3 separate regions of the Homo sapiens genome follow, and all the other regions are linked to region 1. Evidence: promoter capture Hi-C in human tissues and cell types (Jung and others, 2019). All regions are on one chromosome and are shown on one strand. The core of a region is centred on a gene start or on the middle of the fragment in contact, and the rest is flanking DNA. Distances in the headings are between cores, read along the strand shown. Region 1 holds the start of TRIML1 (tripartite motif family like 1). Region 2 has its middle 400 kb from the start of LINC02508. Region 3 overlaps FRG1-DT (FRG1 divergent transcript).

The links. Contacts are between HindIII fragments. The study calls those that stand out against the background at their distance.
Region 2: a fragment that was not itself captured here is called in contact with the fragment with the promoter of TRIML1 in region 1 in 1 of the 25 tissues and cell types used here (lymphoblastoid cells).
Region 3: a fragment that was not itself captured here is called in contact with the fragment with the promoter of TRIML1 in region 1 in 1 of the 25 tissues and cell types used here (dorsolateral prefrontal cortex).

What each region holds. Positions count from the first base shown.
Region 1 is chr4:188,136,917-188,141,809 of GRCh38, reverse strand. It overlaps TRIML1 (tripartite motif family like 1), which reads right to left and starts at 2,369. Exons shown (of 6, transcript NM_178556.5): 1 at 1,844-2,369; 2 at 1,187-1,282. The coding sequence starts at 2,251. The HindIII fragment of the contact is 25,840 bases long and covers 1-4,893 here.
Region 2 is chr4:189,177,059-189,182,047 of GRCh38, reverse strand. No RefSeq gene overlaps it. Among named protein-coding and RNA genes, the nearest start is that of LINC02508, 400 kb to the right of the region's middle. RefSeq lists enhancers at 2,906-3,532, 3,533-4,159. The HindIII fragment of the contact is 5,442 bases long and covers 293-4,989 here.
Region 3 is chr4:189,846,779-189,851,748 of GRCh38, reverse strand. All of the region lies in intron 3 of FRG1-DT (FRG1 divergent transcript), which reads left to right. Among named protein-coding and RNA genes, the nearest start is that of LINC01596, 32 kb to the left of the region's middle. RefSeq lists an enhancer at 4,284-4,970. The HindIII fragment of the contact is 4,445 bases long and covers 441-4,885 here.

The DNA.
Region 1 (4,893 bases), core at 1,120-3,619:
ACAATTCCTGAAATCCAACATATAATACATTTAATCTGTTGATGCGCTGGGTGTAGAGGTTGATGTTTTCGGAGGTATGTGCGCTATAGATACAATAGTAAACAAAACCAAAATCTCCATTCCCAGGAGGCGGTCGTTCTAGTGGAGAAAACCAAAAATGAGTAAGAAATATGACAAGTAGTGATCAGGACTATGATACAAATAAAACAAAATTAAGAAAAATTATGAAAAATGTGTGTTCATTTATTCAACAAATATTTATTCAATGAAAGTAGGTGTCAGATAACCAAAAAGGAACAGAAACATACATGGCAAATACTCTCACTTAAGAATTCAAAGTCTACGGCCAAGCACGGTGGCTCACACCTGTAATCCCAGCACTTTGGGAGACCGAGACAGGTGGATTACCTGAGGTCGGGAGTTCGAGATCAGCCTGGCTAACATGGTAAAACCCCATCTCCACAAATATACAAAATTAGCTGGGCATGGTGGCACACGTCTGTAATCCCAGCTACTCAGAAGGCTGAGGCAGGAGAATCACTTGAACCCGGGAGGTGGAGGTTGCAGTGAGCCGGGATCGCGCCACTGCACTCCAGCCTGGGCGACAGAGAGAGACTCCATCTCCAAAAAAAAAAAAAAAAAAACAGATTTCAAAGTCTATTGGGAGAATCAGATACATGGTTTTAAAAAATATATAATTTGATATTTAGTCCTTTGCTTTGACTGCTGGAGAGCTCAAATCCAAGTCCGTGACCAACCTTGAGGACTTGTCAGGTATCATTTAAACCACTATTTTGCTTTTATATCTCTGTCTCTTTATTTTTTTTAATTTGCATTTTCCCCTCCATGTTTTTGAGATATTTCTTTTTAAAATCGCTTTCCGTCTCATGTTACATGTCTATAAGTATCACTTGTGTTTTAAATAATTCTACCAGAGCCATCATAGAGGAAGCCACAGCGTTGTCTAGTTATGCAAAGGAGGCTCCTAGAGGGGGCGAATTGCAGCTGAGCCTTGAGACTCCCACGAGGACGCTCAGAAGAAGGCAGCCCAATGCAAGGAAACTGCATATTTTAGAGGTGAGACTGGAAAAATTTGTCTTTTTTTTTTCCTGATATTTCACTAAATTTCCCTTTAGTCCCCCTTATGGGGTCATATACAAGCAGCAAAAGTCAGACAGACACCGACCTGGCACAGTTTCACTCTCTCCTTCTCATGGGTTAGTACAGCCTGAGCTTCCTTTCTCCTTACACGCAAAAGATTCAGGATTTCCTGGAGTTTCTCCTGCAATAGAAACAAACCCTTTCTGGCAAATGAGCAGAGTCCCAGGTCATGAAGGGGCTTTGAAGACCAGTAACTGCGCAGTCCTAGGCCTCTAAAACAAAGGGCAGGCTGGGTGCGGCGCCTCACGCCTGTAATCCCAGCACTTTGGGAGGCCGAGGCAGGCGGATCACCTGAGGTCAGGAGTTCAAGACCAGCCTGGCCAACATGGTGAAACCCCGTCTCTATTAAAAATACAAAAAATTAGCCGGGCGTGGTGGTGGGTGACTGTAGTCCCAGCTACTGGGGAGGCTGAGGCAGGAGAATGGCGTGAACCTGGGAGGCGGAGGTTGCAGTGACTGAGATCGCACTGCTGCACTCCAGCCTGGGCAACAGAGCAAAACTCTGTCTCAAAAACAAAAAAAGGGAAAAAAAAGGGTGTAAACTGGACCCACGCCAGTTTGTGATGTGGTGCTCAGATGGGCCCTCGTGACTGTCCCCCACAGAGGACGTTAGGAAACGTCAGGAAAGCTAACGGAGTTAGCTGCGATGAGTCGTGGGGTTCATGCTGAGCAGCTGTCTTACTCTGTGATGCTCCTCAGCCTCGCTGGAGAGATGCACTCTGTTTGCACCATGGCTCTGGGCTACGAAGGCGCTTCCACCCTGCTCGTCATCGGAGAGCGCCTTGGCAGTGGTGGGCATCCTCCCGTAGCTGCCCTGCTCATCCTCGCTCTGCAGCACCTGGGACCGGAGCTGCCTGGCGATGCTGGCCAGCCTCCCCAGACGCTCGTTTGACTGGAAATGCGGGCCCTCCAAGGTCCTCCAGCACTCAGGACAAGATAAAGGTGTGTTATGTTCCTCCCAGCTCCTGAGGAGACACACCAGACAAAAGCTGTGCCCACACTCGGTGGTCACTGGGCTGCTGAAATAGTCTAAGCAGATGAAACAGGTGAGTTCCTCCCTGAGGTTCTCCATCAGATCTGCTGTAGACATTTTCTCGAGGCTGGATATGCAGCCAGGTTACACCTCTGTTCTGGGATTAGCAAAGCCCTCACTGCCGTCCTACAGTTTTGAGTAACACGCGGGTGACCTGTTCCTATGTTGTTATGACAAGAAACCCTTATCTCTTCTGTGCCTGATTTCACCAGCTGACATACACTGTCCAACACAAAGCCAATTATGACTTAATGTGGAACTCCTGTATACTGGGCTCCTCACCAACCCCAAACTTTGAGACTTATCTCTGTGAAAAGCACACATGCTAGAGGCTGAGGATTCTGGCTTCTAACAGGATTACCATTTTGAGAACTGGTTATTGTACATAAACAGCACTGTGGAACCATGTGAGCATGTGGGTTTTAGGCTGGAAGCTTGGGTGATTTGGTGTAAACCAGTAAAGAGATTTGAGTTTTGATGATCTCTAATAATATCTGAATTGGAAATTTGGTCCAAATCTTTTGGGAACTCCACTAATAAAACCTAGTTGAGAACTGAGAGAAGAAAACTGTAATACATAGTCCTTTTCTCATTAGCCCCTTTTGTTCTGCTTGACCAAAGCCTAAGCTTTTGTTCCTTTATTGGGTACTGTGTACTTTTATTTAATTTTATTCATCCCAACAAAATGAGAGCTCTTCCACTGAAGTATTCCTTGGTGTTAGGCGCACGATGAATTGCCAGAGCTGTTTATTGATCTTCCCTGCACACCCTAGTACTCACCCATCTGCCATCTTGGAAAGCATCTAAAATGACATTCTAATTGGAAGTTGCCTCAAGAGGCTATCCCACTATGGAGCAGATGGAAAGAATTATATTTTAGTATAAATGTAATTTTGCTCACTTATTTTCACCCATTGAAAATTTCCAAACTAGGCCCCTTCAAATCCCTGATTATCAGTTCTTACTGGACAGAAATGAAGTGTGCAGACATTTTTTCGGACATATGAAAAAGTAAATGCCTAGTGTGGAGACTGTGCACAGTGAACTCCGAGATTGGTAACAAATGCCACAAATTCACTGTGTCCCCTGCTCGGGAGTCAGCTCCTGTCCTGGCCTGCCTTCTGCTCACTGCATGCCAGGAAGTTGCACCTCAAAAGCTCTTCCTCAAAGGCCAGCGAGTTTGACCTTCCCACGAACTCATCACGCCATATTTCTGTCTCCGTCCCCTCACTCTCCAGCTTGGCAGCCTTCCACGAGTCGGGTCCATTACTCAGGCTGTTCCGTTCATTGGTTTCTGACTTTCAAGGCTCCAACTGCTACTTCTTTCCCACTTACCTCCAACAGGATGTTGGATGTTTTCTTATCTTGAACTTTGGGAAAAAGAAGTTTTCTGGCTGAGAATGTTTTTTCCTCCACCTTCCTTTCTCCTAGTCAAAACTCACCTTTCTGAAATCATTAATTCAAAATGTTTCAATCCTATACATCCCTTGTAAAGCATACGTGAATTGCTAGGATGAGAATTTAAGCTATGAAAAAATAAGAGCAAAGAGTTATACTACTGTAAAGAGGAAGAGAGGTGGCATCAGGGTGGCATCATGAAACCTCTACCAAGATAGCCTCCAGGATACTAACTTGTCACAGCTTCAGAATATTGCTATGAGTTAGTCTTGTAAGAGTCTTAAAAAAAAAAAGAAAAAAAGTTTGGCCAGGCGCGGTTGCTCACATCTGTAATCCCAGCAGTTTGGGAGGCCGAGGTGGGTGGATCACTTGAGGTCAGGAGTTTAAGACCAGCCTGGCCAACATGGTGAAACTCCGTCTCTACTAAAAATATGAAAATTAGGCCGGGTGCAGTGGTTCATGCCTGTAATCCCAGCACTTTGGGAGGCTGAGGCAGGCAGATCACTTGAGGTCGGGAGTTCGAGACCAGCCTGGCCAACATGGAGAAACTCCGTCTCTACTAAAAATACAAAATTAGCCGGGCATGGTGGCACATGCCTGTAATCCCAGCTAGTCAGGAGGCTGAGACAGAAGAATTGCTTGAACCCAGGAGGTGGAGGTTGCAGTGAGGTGAGATCACGCCATTGCACTCCAGCCTGGGCAACAAAAGCGAAACTCTGTCTCAAAAAAAAAAAAAAAAAAAGTAAAAATAGCTGGGTGTGGTGTTGCACGCCTGTAATCCCAGCTACTTGGGAGGCTGAGGCAGGAGAATCACTTGAACCCAAGAGGTGGAGGTTGCAGTGAGCCAAGATCCCACCACTGCACTCCAGCTTGGGAGACAGAGAAAGATCCCATCTCAAAAAAAAAAAAAAAAAAAAAAAAAGACTACAATAACACTAACTGCCACCACTAGAAAAAGAATTTATGAACTACCATCTCCATTCAGTGTGTTATTTCAACACAACCCCAGGAGGAGTCTTTAACATTTACCAAAATCATTAGAATAAGCCTCACAATACAGTTATAGCACATCACAGAGCCAGTATTCCAATTTGGAATAGGGAGGCTGGCATAGTCTCTGTTCAAGTCACACTGATCTGCTCTATCCCGTTTCCCTCTTCCAGATAATTTTTTTTATTTTATAGGCATCGTAACACAATAACCACGTGTTATTCATTGATGACTACAAGAATTCTTTGCACGTGGCTCGATTTTTCTGTTAATGAGTTATAAATGAATAGAGGAACTATATTATTATGGAA
Region 2 (4,989 bases), core at 1,764-4,263, 1.0 Mb before region 1:
TGGTAAAGTCACAGAGACCTGTCAGGAACCACCAAGGCACTTAGCTGCCAAGACTTCCCCAAACATCATTTTCAACCAGCTTCACAAAGGCCAATGAAGACCACTGAAGCCACGTCCAAGTGTTTCAAATGGGAAAACGAGTCTCAATGTTGCAATTTCCTAGACTTAGATATATTTAATGAAAGAACTCAATTTACTCACAGTTAATGTAGTAATGAGTAGAAAAGAAATGAGGATAGGTGGAGCAATCCCATTTTTGAGTGGTTTATGTGGTTTCTTTGGAAAAAGAAAGAAAGAGGGAGACAAATTACAAAGGAAAGCATGACCAAGCAGAGAAGCCTTTAGAGAATTAACCAGAAATGAGAATTAGAAATCAGAATTAGAGAATTTCAGTAATTTGCCCAGAACCACCCTGAGAGTTGGTAAAAGGGCAAATGTTTGAACCCTTGTACTTCCTCTGTGAAGTGGAAACTAGAAAAACTGCGCATTGTTCAAAAGACACAACAGGATCCACACAGAACTGGGATTCCAAGCACATGCCAAGAATGATAGAGTCCAATTTCACACGATATGGATGGGAGAGAATTCCTAACGAGAGGTCGTCAGCATAAAAACAGGAGGCCTATATTCCAAAAGTGAACTTCTGAAGAGATTTGAAATATCAAAGAGAAAGGAAAAAATATAAAATAATAACAAGATTTTCTTAAAAATACAATTTCGTGTTTTAAAAAATCAGATATTTTACACATTATATAAATTGAATAAAGTATTAGTGGGCTTAGTAAATTAGTGGACTTAGTTAACTGAGATATAGACAAGAGGAAATGACTGAATATAGAGACCAGTGAGGAAAAGAGATAGAAAATATGAAAGAGAATTTGAAAAGTGGAGGAGAGAAGCCAAGGCTCCAGCCATTATCTATTCGAAGTTCAAAGCAGGGAATTGAGACAATGGTTAAGATGCAATCTTCTAAATAAATTTGATGAGAGTTTTCTAGAATTAAAGAAAGATGTGAGTGCTCAGACTGAAGATTTATATTAAGTTTCAAGCAGCACGAATAAAAGCAAATTCCCACTTAGACACACTGCGGTACAGAGTTGAACCATCCAAAACAGAGGAACACTGCAGGTTACTTGCAAAGGAACAAGACAACAGATTTGTCTCTGGCATTGGTAAATGTCAGGTGGCAATGCAATCATTGTAAGGAAAAACAAAGGCAATTTCAGACATGAAAGACTGAGTTTACCGCTCACAGAGGCTTGCTGAAAATTCTCCCCAAAGATGTGCTTCAACAATGAAAAACCCAGAAGAAGAAATAGATAGAAAGTAATTGTATACATAGAAGTTGGTAAAACTTGTTACATTTAGATTGGTATTGATTGGAATTGAAAAGAAACCTTAAGACAATTTTGGTGAAACTTTTAGAAAAATGAATATTAAATTCTACATCTCAAAAATATGGAAGATGAGAAGAGTATAGAATTGTATTGTTTGGGAAGATGACAAAGATACTGAGCCACTTTAGTCTTTCCAAAGATAAGCATGCATGTTGACCATTTCAGGGTAAATATAAAAGTATACTGCTTTAATTTCAAACCGGAGAAAGCCAGTATGGGAATTAAGAATTAAGGAAATGCAATCTATACAACAGTGGGCAGAGGAAGGAGAAATAGAAAACAAAGTAAAAATATGAAAAATTAGAACCCACAAAACCAGGTCATAGAAACTATATTATTTTACAATATTAATAAAAAAGAAAATAAGTCAGTCTTATTTTAAGACAGAAACTTTCAGCATAAATAACAATAAACCATCTTTGTGAACAGTATGAAGAACCTATATTTTATCAATAAGAGGACAATATAAAAAATTGTAGTACATTTGTAAGATAAAGTAGTATATAGTATTGGGACTCAGAAAACAATAACCCAAAATGAAGTCCTCAGAAACAAATGTTTTTCCCTGTCTCCTGCCCACCTATCTCAGTCTCATTCTCCCCTGAGGCCAGCCATAGAAACTGGAATCCCTCTTCCACAAAGCAGGTTATAGAAACCAGAATCCCTTTTGCCCTATGCCAGCCATAAAACCTAAAATATTATTCCAGCTTTGCCCCCTCAATTCCATGCAAAACTGGCAATAAAGACACTCTCCGACCGACTTTGACTGCAGGTCATGAGACCCCATTGCAGAGAGGGCCCTGCCCCACACCAGAGGGGAGGGATGATGCCCAGAGAGGCCAGGAAGAATCTGCATGTCAGGCCTTGCTGGGTGCCCCCACTCAGTGTCTCAGTCCACCCAGTGTCTCAGCACTAGATCACACCCTTTTTGTTTAATCCTATTTCCACACAGCTGTCCATACGTTGTTGAACCTAAGCATAAAAATGGACAATTTCCCCTGCATCTCTGGGTCCGCAGTCTGAAGACTCCACTAAGATCAAATAAATTTGCCTGTCTTTTCTCCTATTAGTCTCCTTCGTGAGTTGATTTTTCAGCAAACCTGCAGAGCATAAAGGGGAAGCTTTCCCCTGGCCTCGACAACAGGATGGCCTGGGTCTATGACACCCACATAGACAGGCCCTGGAAATAAGTTAGAGAGAAAAAGGTGAGCTGAGAATGGCACACATGACATGCCTCCTCAGTGAATAAAATCCCGACTCCCGAAAGCGGCCTGCGTGGCATCAGGGGATCCCTGCTGTCTCCAACTCTGCAAACATCTTCTCTTGCCCATCTCCCCCTCAATCAATGTGAGCTGTTTACAACTGTCTTTCTTCTAGCAACCTGACCCTGTGTTCATAGCAGGTCCCTGCACTCTGCCTCAAGGGCTCTTCCTCCAGATCTGCACACAATTTGCTTTGGAACTTTCTGAGATCTCTGCTCACAATCACCTTTTTGGAGAGGTTCTCCTCACCACTGTCTCCAAAATGTCAGCCTCTGTTGTGCTCTGTCTCCTCATCCCTTCCCATGGCCTTCAATTACTTATTTACTATGTCCATCCTTCCCAGGTCAGTCTTTTCCATTCGCATGCAGGCTTCATAGGGACAGAGCCTGCCACAGACCGGTGCTCAATGAATTCGATCCGTTGGATGAATGAATGCATATGATGTTTTATTATGTGTTAATAACCATAGGTTTGATCTTGTTTAGAGATGCGGACATATGTAGGGAAGAGTGAGAAGGAAAATAGCAGAGCTTCTTTCCCTTTTCCTCCATCACAGGGTCTCTCTAATGACAGAGGATACAGAACCCTCCACAGAGTCATGAAGGGTTCTAAGCCATCCAAGGTTACACGGCCTCTGAAATGGCCTTCAAAAAAATTATGTCCATGAGAAAATTATGGCAGTAAGGGAGGTCTGATCTTGCCAACGCCTCCTTTTGCCTCTAGCTTTCCAGTTGCCTTAATTATTCCTGGGCCTAGGTAAATTTGGAAGACAATTAGGTTATAATTTAAATGATAACAGCCTTTCCTCAGAACTCAACCATCTTTGTAAAGCTAATGAGAGACCATTGGGCTAGTGGGAGAAAAAGAGCTTAAATTCTGCTAAGGTATAGACTGGTCACAAGATAAACAACTTCCCCAATTACTCCTGCAGATACCATCACTATAGTAGACTGGACTTTTGAAATGGCTTTTCAGGTTTTTTGCATGTCTGACACAGATGGCTCCAACTGGACCTGCCAAACCACCCATGTAGCACCCACCACTCAGGAGCAATTCAGCTCAAGAGGCAGCTTCAACTGCTTACGAGTTCATCTCCACCCCAACCAATTAGCAGCAAACATCCATTTCCTAGCCACCGCTGCCCCTTCTAAACTGCCTTTGAAAAACCCTTAACCTATGAGAGCCTTCAAAGAGATTGATTTAGGTAATAACTCTGTCTCCCACATGGCCTGGCCAGTCTCACATCAATTAAACTCTTTCTTTACTGTAATAATGTGGTCTGTCTTTGTGCAGCAAGCAGGAAAAACCCATTGGGCAGTTAAACCTCTTTCCCTGGTAATAACAGAAACCCCTCCTTTGGATTGGCAGGACACACCTGTTAGCCTGAGATAACACTCCTAGTTGTCCACAGTGTGAGTGGAATGTGTGGGGTTCCATGTGCCCTGGTGATCAAAGCAGGGGTGCTGAGAGGACAGTGAGCCCTCAGGGTATGACCAGGAGCTTGTGGAAAAGAGAAACGTGGGAGCCAGAGGCAGACGCCAGACAGGATCAGTGGCACATCACCACAGGCCAATCTACTGACAAGAGCAGCCTCTGTGGCTCAGGCCACCGATGACCAGAGCCCCTAAGGCAGACTGTATTATGCAAAAGTGGCCACAGGGATATTTCCCATTCCACATGCTCTTGCAAAGGGATCTTGACAATATTTGCACTGAGCATTCTGAATTATGTTCCCTTCCTTTGAATCTGAGTGAGCCTGTAACTTGCCTGTAACCTGGACAGTGCAGCAGAAGTAACTTGTGTGCTTCCCTGGGCTGGGTCCAGAAAGGTGATGACCACGGGGATACTTGCTTTTGAAGAGCTCGGTTTTCATGGAAACAGATTTCTGCCTTCAAGCACCTTCCCCATTAGCTGGGGAGGAAGCCCTAACTAATCCATGCAGAGAGATCAGATAGAGGTGCCTGGGTGCCTGGCCAGGACGTAGCCATTCCTTTCCTGTGGTCTCAGCTTCAGCCACCACCTGTGGGCAATTCATTGAGAAACCACAAGCCAGAGGAGCTCTTCCGTCTTCAAAGCGCAGATGCTATGAGACACAATACAGTCACTGTTGCTTTACTCACCACATTTTAGAGTGACTCGTTAGCAGCATTAGTGACTGGAATAGGCTCCCCTGGGCATAGTTACAGGGAAGGTTAGGCACCTGGTAGACCCATACACCACTAAGGGGAGAAAAAAGAGGAAGAGGAAATTAGAAAAAAAATAGTCATTTATTAAAAAGAGATTTCTTTAATAAAAATATATTTATTCTAAACAGATAGAATAAGAGAATG
Region 3 (4,970 bases), core at 1,414-3,913, 1.7 Mb before region 1:
ATAGGGAGAAAACTACATGAAATTGGTTTGGGCAATTACATTTTCAATTTTACTCTACAACCACAGGCAACAAAAGCAAAAAGAGATGAATGGGATTTCATGAAATATGAAAGCTTCTGTATAACAAAGGAAACAACAGAAACAACCTACAAATTAGGAGAAAATATTTGCAAGCCACATATCTGATAAGAAGCTAATATCCAAAATGCATGCGGAACTCAAACAACTCTAGAAAACAAATAAGACTAATTTAAAAAATGGGCATAGGACCTGAATAAACATTTTTCAGGAGAAGATATACAAATTACCTACAAATATATGTAAAAAGAAAAAACTCAATATCACTAATCATTAGGGAAATGCAAGTTAAAACCACAATGAGACAGCACCTCACACCTCTCAACATGGCTATTTAAAAAAAAAGAGAGAAGGGATTAAAAAGTTTTGGTGAGAATGTGGAGAAAAGAGAACTTTTGTACTCTGTTCTTGGGAATGTAAATTAGTACAACTTTTATGGAAAACTGTATGGAGGTTCCTCAAAAAACTAAAAATAGAATTACCATATGACCTGGCAATCCCGCTTGTGTGTATTGACACAAAACCCATATCTATGCCAGAGAGATGTCTGCACTCCCGTGTTCATTGCAGCTCTGTTCACAATAGCCAAGTTACGGTATCAACTTAAGTGACCATCAGATGATTGGATAAATAAAACATGGTCTATACACATACAATGAAATTCTATTCAGCCTTATAAGAGAAAGAAGCTTGGTCGTTTGCAACAACCTAGGTCAATTAAGCCTCCAGGCATATGAGGTCCATTGTTGTGAGTTTATATGTGTCCTGAAGGGTCCTGAATCCCTTCGTAGGGAACTCTGGTCTTTAAAGTTCCAGGTGAGGTCTAAGATTTTCTGGTGGTTTTGACATATAGAATCATAAACTTTTATAGCTAAAGGAATCTTTTCTTATATTTCATTTATTCTTTTTCCCCTAGTTTATAGATTAGATCTAAAGAGGTCCCTTGACTTGCCTGAAGCAATGCCTCTGGTTAATGATGAACCAGTATTGGAACCCAAGTCTCCAAATTATTAGTCAGCTCAGTGCTTTTGCACTGAACTCTGCTACATCTGAAAGATGCCTTGTTCCTCATGTTCAGTAAAGAATGGTCTACAGATTAGACAAAATCGACACATTTATAAACAAAAATAGCAACACCAACAAACAAAAATATTTTGCTGCCCAGAGACGGGTGGGCCCTGTTAGTGCTGTTTGGTTTAGGATACCTTGGGCTTGTACTAGAGGTGAAGTAACTCACCCCTCGACAGGAGCAAGACCTTTTGAAACACCAGTCTGTAAAGAGTAAGATCTACCCAGCTTAGCTGCCAGAATCATCACTTCCATTGTCAGTTGAGTTCCTCTGGTCTAGACAGTCATCTTATAAATTCCTTAACCAGCTTTTAAAAGGCCATAAAAGGATTAGTAGATAGAATGAATGAACCTAGATGTAGAACGAGAATTATATATGCATACATTTTTTTCATACAGGAAACAAACATTAATGATCAACAAACTAAATGTACATTATAGTTATGGTAAAATGTTAATATTCAACAAACTAAATATATTTTACATTGTGGCTATGCTATTAACTCTGAATCTTCCTTACTTTGTAATTCATGAAAATCAGAGCCAGAACTGGAGAACAGAGGTCTCTGAGGTGTCTCATTTGAGTTATCTTTCTTCGTCATCTAGATTGCATGTTGCAGGATGACCTTTCTGTTTGTCCTGTGCTGAGCTGTCTAGGATTGGTTGCCCATGTGTATCCTAGTGTTCAATACTAATTGTACAGAATTTTTAGGACTTTCTGAAGGGTTTCAAAGTCTAAATTTAAGTAAAGACAGTTTTTTTTAAAATCAACTTAAGAGGTATATAATTTATATACAACAAAAGGCCTACATTTTAAAGATCAAGTACAGTGTGTTTTGACAAATGTATGTGTTGGTGTACCCAAGGTGTAGAACATTTCTGTAACTCTAGAAGTTCCCTCTTGCCCCTTGTCAGTCAGTCTTCACCAGTAATTTTTCAGCCCCAGAAAACCACCAATTGCTCTGTGTCCCTATAGATTGGTTTTGCTGGTTTTCAAACTTCATATAAGTGGAATCACACAATATGTATTCATTTGTGTCTGATATCTTTTGCTCAGCATAAAAGATGGCATATTTTATCAAATATTTCTAAGGAAGGTGATTTCATACAATGCATCCTAAAAACACAGGTTGGTCATTTTATCTTGTCAATAACCAAACCCTTCTGGCTGCGTGTCTTCCCTACACATCCTCTGAAATAGTGTCTGCTGGGTCTCTTGCCTAAGCAGCCTCTGACATAGTGTCTGCTGGGTGTCTTCTCTAAACAGCCTCTGACATGGTGTCTGCTGGGTGTCTCCTCTGAACAGCCTCTGACATAGTGTCTGCTGGGTGTCTTCTCTAAACAGCCTCTGACATGGTGTCTGCTGGGTGTCTCCTCTGAACAGCCTCTGACATAGCGTCTGCTGGGTCCCTTCTCTAAGCAACCTCTGACATAGTGTCTTCTGGGTCTCTTCTCTGAGCAGCTTCTGACATAGCGTCTGCTGGGTCCCTTCTCTGAGCAGCCTCTGACATAGTGTCTTCTGGGTCTCTTCTCTGAGCAGCCTCTGACATAGTGTCTGCTAGGTCTCTTCTCTGAGCAGCCTCTGACATAGGGTCTGCTGGGTGTCTCCTCTGAACAGCCTCTGACGTAGTGTCTGCTGGGTGTCTTCTCTGAGCAGCCTCTGACATAGTGTCTGCTGGGTCCCTTCTCTGAGCAGCCTCTGACATAGTGTCTGCTGGGTCCCTTCTCTGAGCAGCCTCTGACATAGTGTCTGCTGGGTGTCTCCTCTGAGCAGCCTCTGACATAGTGTCTGCTGGGTGTCTTCTCTGAGCAGCCTCTGACATAGTGTCTGCTGGGTGTCTCCTCTGAACAGGCTCTGACGTAGTGTCTGCTGGGTGTCTCCTCTGAGCAGCCTCTGACGTAGTGTCTGCTGGGTGTCTTCTCTGAGCAGCCTCTGACATAGTGTCTGCTGGGTGTCTCCTCTGAACAGCCTCTGACATAGTGTCTGCTGGGTGTCTCCTCTGAACAGCCTCTGACATAGTGTCTCCTGGATGTCTTCTCTAAGCAGCCTTTGACATAGTGTCTGCTGAAGCTTCAAGGGTTGTTGATTGGGACTAGATGTTCAGAGGTCAACATCAATTTTGAACTAAAAAATGGATTCCCCACCAGAAACTATTCTAGCACTTCCCATATATGATGATTAAACACCCCCTTGGTTGAAACTGTCTCAGCTTTTAATATGCCACCATTTTGTTGCTACTGGTGAGCTTCAGAGCTCTTTTTAAGAAACCTGTCCTTGGTGCCTTTCCCATGACTCCGCTTGTTTACTTCTTTTTTCTTGTCACTCCCATCAATCCCTCAGATATCAGCAATCTCCTGTTGTTATTCCCATTAAGGCCTGTCTTCCATACCTTTCTCTGCTAACAAAACCTTCGTTTTCATGTTCTTATTTCACCACTGCTCCCAGCTATCTCCCACTCTAGACAAGATCGTTGATCGAATCACCCTAAGTTATAGGCTGCAGCTGTGTCCAGCACCGTGTCAGCCACAAAGGGCGAGGAAAACAAGGCCCTTGTTCTCAGCAAGTCCACAGGGTGCTGGGGGATAGGCATACAACTCTCATTGACAATTGTCTTTTCTATTCCCCTTAAGGGTCCCTGTCATGGATTTGAAGACAGATTTGTGGGCCACCAGCCTTGAGTTAGTCATTTGGCCACCACTTCTCCAAGTCCTGTGCTTTCCCCTGCATGACTGTGGACCCCCAGTCGCTTTGCTAGTAGTTGTGGTCTGGAATTAAGGATATACACCCCCTCACAGCCATTGTGATAGCACTGCATGAAACTGGGGTAGGGCGGGCATGTGTGACTATACGGCAGGTGTCACTTCTCCTAGTGAACCCCAGCGTCCTGTCTCAGGGTCACCATCATTCACAGTTATGTAAAGAAGCCAGAGGAATTGCAGTGCACTTAAGTAAACTTAAAAATCATCTCCTAATTATTATTGATCTTCTCATCAGAGACAAGGTGCCCAAGAACTGAATGGGAGGGAGGTGGGCACGCCACCTTATAGCCCAAGAATCATTAGTCAGGACAGCCTATTTATAAAAATAGCTTGCTAAGAGGAGTTTTAAAGACCACAGAAGAGTACATTTCTTTACTAGTTTTATTTACTAAAAGTGTAAAAATTAGACTTTTAAATCATTTGATTCCAGAGGCACATTTTTTAAAAAATGTAGTTTTTGAGAATTATAAGAGGTATATTAAAAAATTTTAAGTTTGTCTCTTTTTTTTGAAAGCTGAAAATTAATCTAATGCTATTCTTGTCAACCAAAATAGGAGAGAGCTGAGGGACACAGCATGGAAAACATGAAAGAGCTGAGGGACACAGGATGGAGAATATGAAAATAGGAGAGAACCGAGGGACATGCAAGGAGAATAGGAGAGAGCCGAGGGACACGGCACAGAGAATGGGAGAGAGCCGAGGGACACGGCACGGAGAATGGGAGAGAGCCGAGGGACACGGCACGGAGAATGGGAGAGAGCCGAGGGACACGGCACAGAGAATGGGAGAGAGCCGAGGGACACGGCACGGAGAATGGGAGAGAGCCGAGGGACACGGCACGGAGAATGGGAGAGAGCCGAGGGACACGGCACGGAGAATGGGAGAGAGCCGAGGGACAGGGCACGGAGAATGGGAGAGAGCCGAGGGACACGGCACAGAGAATAGGAGAGAGCCGAGGGACACGGCACAGAGAATGGGAGAGAGCCGAGGGACAGGGCACGGAGAATGGGAGAGAGCCGAGGGACAGGGCACGGAGAATGGGAGAGAGCCGAGGGACACGGCAC